Linked DNA regions of Homo sapiens: region 1 is linked to region 2. The links are contacts of gene promoters, found by promoter capture Hi-C in blood cells and fetal thymus (Javierre and others, 2016). All regions are on one chromosome and are shown on one strand. Each heading gives the region's core, a stretch centred on a gene start or on the middle of the fragment in contact. The rest is flanking DNA. Distances are from core to core; before and after follow the strand shown.

Region 1 (2,775 bases), core at 131-2,630, 52 kb before region 2:
CTGGGCCAGATTGCTGGGGGCCAGGCCAGTGAGCAAAGAACCCCCTCTTCCTGCTCCCCTACCCAGAGAGTTCCGCTTCACGTCTGAGGTCCCCATCTGGCTGGATTACCATGGCAAGCACGTCACGATGGACCAGGTGGTAAGTGGGGCGGTCGGATGGGGTGGCCATGTGGGGTCAGCTGTGGCTGAGTCCCTCTGGGGGCCAGGTCTTGCATCCAGGCACTGTTAGCAGCCAGGGCGCTCTCCAGTGGCTCCCATGGGCTAGCTAGCTCCCTGAGTCCCATTGGGTAAACCTGGACCCCCTCCCTCTCCCAGGGCACTTTTGCTGGCCTCCTCATCGGCCTGGCCCAACTCAACTGCTCCGAGCTGAAGCTAAAGCGGCTCTGTTGCAGGCACGGGTGAGTCCCCAGCACCCCAGCCTCTCTCCAGGGTCCCTGATCTTCCTTCTGTTCTGGTCCTGACTGGTTGTGTGGCCTTGGCCAAGTCATCACCCTTCTCAGGGCCTCAGTTTCTCCTCTGTAAAAAGGACGCAGTTGGCTGGGCATGATGGCTCACACATTCAGGCATTCGAGACCAGCCTGACCAACATGGTGAAACCCCCCCGTCTCTACTAAAAATACAAAAATTAGCCAGGCGTGGTGGCATACACATGTAATCCCAGCTACTCAGGAGGCTGAGGCAGGAGAACTGCTTGAACCTGGGAGGCGGTTGCAGTGAGCCAAGATCGCACCACTTCACTCCAGCCTGGGCAACGGAGCAAGACTCCATCTAAAAAAAAAAAAAAAGGACACAGTCCCTCTGCACATGACTGGGTGGGACCACAGGGAGGGTAGAGTGCCCACAGTACTTGCCACAGGGGTACTGAGTCCTCCTGACCCCACAATCCCTCCATGTGTGGCTCTGCCTCACCTTCTGCCTCCTCACCTCCCTGCCCTGCCAGGCTCCTGGGTGTGGACAAGGTGCTGGGCTATGCCCTCAACGAGTGGCTGCAGGACATCCGCAAGAACCAGCTGCCCGGCCTGCTGGGAGGCGTGGGCCCCATGCACTCGGTTGTCCAGCTCTGTGAGTGTCTAGGTTTGGAAGCCCTCGAAACTGCTTTTACCCTTGGGCAACCTAGAAGCTGCCATTGGGAATAAGAGGAGGAGGTGGGGGCAGGGCAGCCTCGGGTGTCTCTGAGCGCTCCTTCCCCCTAGTCCAAGGGTTCCGGGACCTGCTGTGGCTGCCCATTGAGCAGTACAGGAAGGATGGCCGCCTCATGCGGGGGCTGCAGCGAGGGGCTGCCTCCTTTGGCTCATCCACAGCCTCTGCCGCCCTGGAACTCAGCAACCGGTTGGTACAGGCTATCCAGGTGAGTGGGTGCCCTGTATCTGGGCTGTGCAGGACAGAGCAGCTGGAGCCCTCTGCACCACAGCTCCCTGGTTCTGTCCTCAAAGCTCCTCAGAGTGGGCAGTCTGGGTATGACAGCCCTACTTTATAGAGAAACAGCCACGGAGAGGCTAAGTGACTTGCCTGGGACCTCCAAGCCAGGTCTCCCGAGGCCCACAGGGGCTCCCATGCAGGAGCGGGAGTGCCCCCCAGGCCTTCAGAGCCCACTGTGTCTCCTGCTCATGGCATGTCTTGTAAAGGGGGGTGGAGGACGGCTGTGTTTGCAGACTAAGAATCTGAGGCGCAGAGGCTGCCCTGGTTCATTCAGGCCATACGCTTCGCTAGGCCAGAAGGACCCCAGGGAAGCTGGGGAGCCAGTCTCGTGGGCAGTTGTCAGATGAATTCTGTAGGGGATCGATGGTCCTAGGCGGCTAAGGGGTGAGTGCAGGTGCATGGTGCATTCTGGAACCTGCAAGCTCAGACCCCAACAGGACAGAGGGCAGGGCTCCAGGGGAGGTGGGAGGGATGCATGGGCACCAGGGAGCCCCCGGGAGTGTTCAGTCAGGTGGGAAAGAGTGATGCCAGGTGAGATGCTGGGCAGAGGATCTGGCAGACAGAAGGAAGGATGGGCCTCTGACCATCTGGCAGGGGCGTCTGGGGGGCCAGGCAAGGAGCGGTCAGTCTCAGGCGTGCAGCTGCGGCAGCCATGTGGAACCTGCTGAATGTGGTGGTCAGCAGGAAGAGAGGTTTGGGTTGAGAAGACTTTAGGAAAGTCCCCTGAGGAGTCCCACGTTCCTAGGTTCCCTCAGCAGAGTGGCAGGTGCCTAGGAAGGGGAGGAAGAGTGGGAGGAAGTGGGGAGTGAGGCTGAGCAGGACCCCCTAGGCCAGCACAGTGACAGGCAGGGAGGCTGAGGGCTGGTGGGGTCTCAGACTGTCCTGGGGGCCTGGGGCTGACGTGTGCCCCAGCCAGCTGTCCTCATCCAGTGCTCCCATGTCCCCCAGGCCACAGCTGAGACCGTGTATGACATCCTGTCCCCGGCAGCCCCCGTCTCCCGCTCCCTGCAGGATAAGCGCTCTGCGCGGAGGCTGCGCAGGGGCCAGCAGCCTGCCGACCTGCGGGAGGGTGTGGCCAAGGCCTACGACACAGTGCGAGAGGTGACCAGGCCCCCGCCCTGCCCCAGTCCCCCATGCCCATCTCCTCACACAGACCCCGCCCTGACCTCTGGCTTCCACAGGGCATCTTGGATACAGCTCAGACCATCTGTGACGTGGCATCGCGGGGCCATGAGCAGAAGGGGCTGACGGGCGCCGTGGGGGGCGTGATCCGCCAGCTGCCCCCGACTGTGGTGAAGCCGCTCATCCTGGCCACGGAGGCCACGTCCAGCCTGCTCGGGGGCATGCGCAACCAGA
Region 2 (2,914 bases), core at 9-2,508:
GTGAGACCCTGTCTCAAAAAAGAGAAAGAAGTGTTGTCTAGGCCGGGTGTAGTTGCCCATGTCTGTAATCCCAGAACTCCGGGAGGCCAAGGTGGGAGGATTACCTGAGCCCAGGAGTTCGAGACCAGCCTGGTCAACATAACAATAACCCTTGACTCCAAAAAGTAAAATAAAAAATCAGCTGGGTGTGGTGGCATCTGCCTGTAATCCCAGCTACTCAAGAGGCTGAGGCAGGAGCCTAAGAGGTCAAGGCTGCAGTGAGTTATGATTGCATCACTGCACTCCAGCATGGGTGACAGAGAGACCCTGTCTCAAAAAAAAAAAAAAAAAAGTGTTGTCTGAAGCCACCAATATGTCCCACCCTTTGATCTCTCCTCATGGTGCCTGGTCCATCCCAGCTGGACAGAAATCAGAAATACCACTGGACAGAGCCAGCCCCTCCCCTCCCCAACCTCCTCCAGCCTATCTCAGACCTCTCCTTGCCCTTCACGTTCCAGGTCAGACCTCAGGCCCTGCTCCTACTGAAGCTTAAAACGCCTGTGGTGTTGGTACCAGCCCAGCTCCACCTCCACCCCAGGGTCTAACTTAAGAGCCACCTTGTCCTCAGCCCCTCAATTCGCCTTCCTCCTTCCCAAGCCTCAGTGTGTCCATCTGCCAAATGGGCGTGACCATCCCTACCCCAACTTCCTGTCTCCCACATCAACTCTAATGATACAATCAAAGTAAGATTCAGAAACTTTTTTTTGGGCGGGGGCGGGGGGGCGATGGGTGCCAAGCGCGGGCAAACCATGGAGAGAGCGAACTACAATTCCCATCCGGCTCCGGGGCCGCGGGCGTCCCTAGCCCCTCTCTCTTAGCCAAGGGCAAGGCGGCTGCGACCCAGGGGGCGAGAGAAGTTGCAGTGCTCCGCGCCTCCTGGGTCAGGGCCCAGGGAGGGCCCAGGTAAGTCTGGGTCTGGGGCCGCGCGGGGATCTGGGGAGTCTTTCCGACCCCGCAGAACCCCACCGCGCCCCGCGCAGAAGTCAGTTGTTCTCCCCGGCCCGCCCCCGCACTTCCTGGCCGGGAGTTGGGCCCGCCCCCGCGCGCCTCCGCCCCCACCTTCACCTCTAGCCGCGGCTCCCATTGGCCGGCGCGCACCTGCCCGTCCGTCGGGGGGCGGGGCGCGGCGCCCAGGTGAGGGCGCGCTGGCGGCGGCGGAGGAAGGTGACAGCGGGGAGGGCGGGAGAGGGGCGGGGGAGGACGCGCGGACAGAGCCTCAGACGGTTGGGCGGACGGACGGCCCGACAGGCGGGCATGCGGGCGGCCAGACTGTAGCCGAGCAGCGAGGCTCCGGCCGCAGCCATGGAGCGGCGGCTGCGCGCGCTGGAGCAGCTGGCGCGGGGCGAGGCCGGCGGCTGCCCGGGGCTCGACGGCCTCCTAGATCTGCTGCTGGCGCTGCACCACGAGCTCAGCAGCGGCCCCCTACGGCGGGAGCGCAGCGTGGCGCAGTTCCTGAGCTGGGGTGAGTGGCGGGGCGGCACGGAGCGGGGGCGGGCCTAGGGATATCGCGCCGAGACCCCCGCACCCGCAGACTTTCCCGCAGGGACCCGCACCCCCACGGGCTTCCCTCGCAGACTCCCTGCAGTGGCCCTGACGCGTACCACCGGACCCCCGCGGCCCGCACACTCGCCTGCACACCTCACCCTCACTCCAATTCTCACACACGCTCTCTCCCTCTCACAGACCCCGACACATGCACACACATACCAACTTGTGCTCAGGTATCGACCGCAGACGCATGTACCCAGTGCACCGCCTAGAGTCCCTTACAGATTTCCTTGCTTACAGGCCACACCTGACGCAGGACACACACAGACCCTCATGCATGTCACCCACTGATACACGGGCTCTGTTTCTCCTTCCTCTCGGATGCATTGAGACACACAACTCATGGAGAGACCCAGGGAGCGCTGCAGACCACCCCGACCGCATTGGCACTGCAAAACACACAGATCTGTAGGTATCGCACACTTGCAGACCTTCCCCCCACCAACACACACACCCCCAGCTCCCTGGGTACAAGACCACTGCAGCCTGGACTCAGGAACCGATCTCCAACCCTTGGCCTGTGCAGGCTGCTGGCCAAGCTCCTTGGGGGCTGTGGCGCCGGGGCCGGGGAGGGGGGCCTAGCTGGAGATGGGTCTGTACCTTTCCTGGTAGACTCATCTGAGTCATTGGGAGTGGCTGGCCCGGGGTGACCCTGAACCCACTGTGGGCACTGGCGCCAGCTGGAGGGTTCCCTGGTCACACCCTGCCGGGCCATGGGGAAAAGGCACGGGGGCCTGGCCAGGGCGGGGTGAGGCAGGTGTTTGCCCAGTGGGCAACTAGCGTTCCTGGCACTCCTGAGCTCTGGGAAGGCACAAGGCCTGGGGTAGAGGGGGAGGCTGCCACCTAGATGTGCCAGGGAGTTGTCCCCTAGCCCCAACCCTTCCATCCAGGGCGAGGCAGTCAGAGGCCCCTGCCTCTGTGCCTGTCTCCCTGGTATGCCTCCGTGCTATGCCTGTCTGCCTGTGTTGTTGTCACCCCCCCCATGACACCCACACACGTGTGTGTGTTTGCACACACATGTGTGCTCCTCCCTGACTGCCTCCAGCACCTCTGCCTGGGACCCCGGCATGGGGGCCCTCTGTTGACAATCTCCCAAGGTAACTCAAAGGGCTGTGACTCATTCCTCTCCTGCTTGTCTCTACTTGTCCCTGCTCCTGCCCGGAGCCCCCATGCCCTGTGGGAGGCCAGAGGATTAGGCAGCCTGTCCAGGGGCCTGGATCCTCCTGCCTGTGGGCCTGGGCTTCGGCCCTCTTCTGGCGGGTGGGTCCCTATGGTGCTGGCTTCAACTCCCACGGGGAGGCCCGGGGCTGCTCCTCCCCAGCTCCAC

Evidence for each region. The method cuts DNA at HindIII sites, captures the fragments that hold promoters and counts their contacts. A CHiCAGO score of 5 or more calls a contact.
Region 1: a fragment that was not itself captured here is called in contact with the fragment with the promoter of CDC42BPG in region 2 in 16 of 17 cell types (naive CD4 T cells, M0 macrophages, megakaryocytes and 13 more); the score reaches 10.3 in naive CD4 T cells.

Annotation. Positions count from the first base shown.
Region 1 is chr11:64,895,035-64,897,809 of GRCh38, reverse strand. It overlaps ATG2A (autophagy related 2A), which reads left to right. Exons shown (of 41, transcript NM_015104.3): 36 at 67-139; 37 at 316-398; 38 at 941-1,062; 39 at 1,194-1,348; 40 at 2,368-2,520; 41 at 2,601-2,775. Among named protein-coding and RNA genes, the nearest start is that of MIR6750, 2.0 kb to the left of the region's middle. The HindIII fragment of the contact is 4,812 bases long and covers 1-2,775 here.
Region 2 is chr11:64,842,997-64,845,910 of GRCh38, reverse strand. It overlaps CDC42BPG (CDC42 binding protein kinase gamma), which reads left to right and starts at 1,258. Exons shown (of 37, transcript NM_017525.3): 1 at 1,258-1,501. The coding sequence starts at 1,342. RefSeq lists silencers at 1,079-1,428, 1,439-1,488, 1,519-1,568 and enhancers at 1,783-2,595, 2,620-2,914. The HindIII fragment of the contact is 2,728 bases long and covers 530-2,914 here.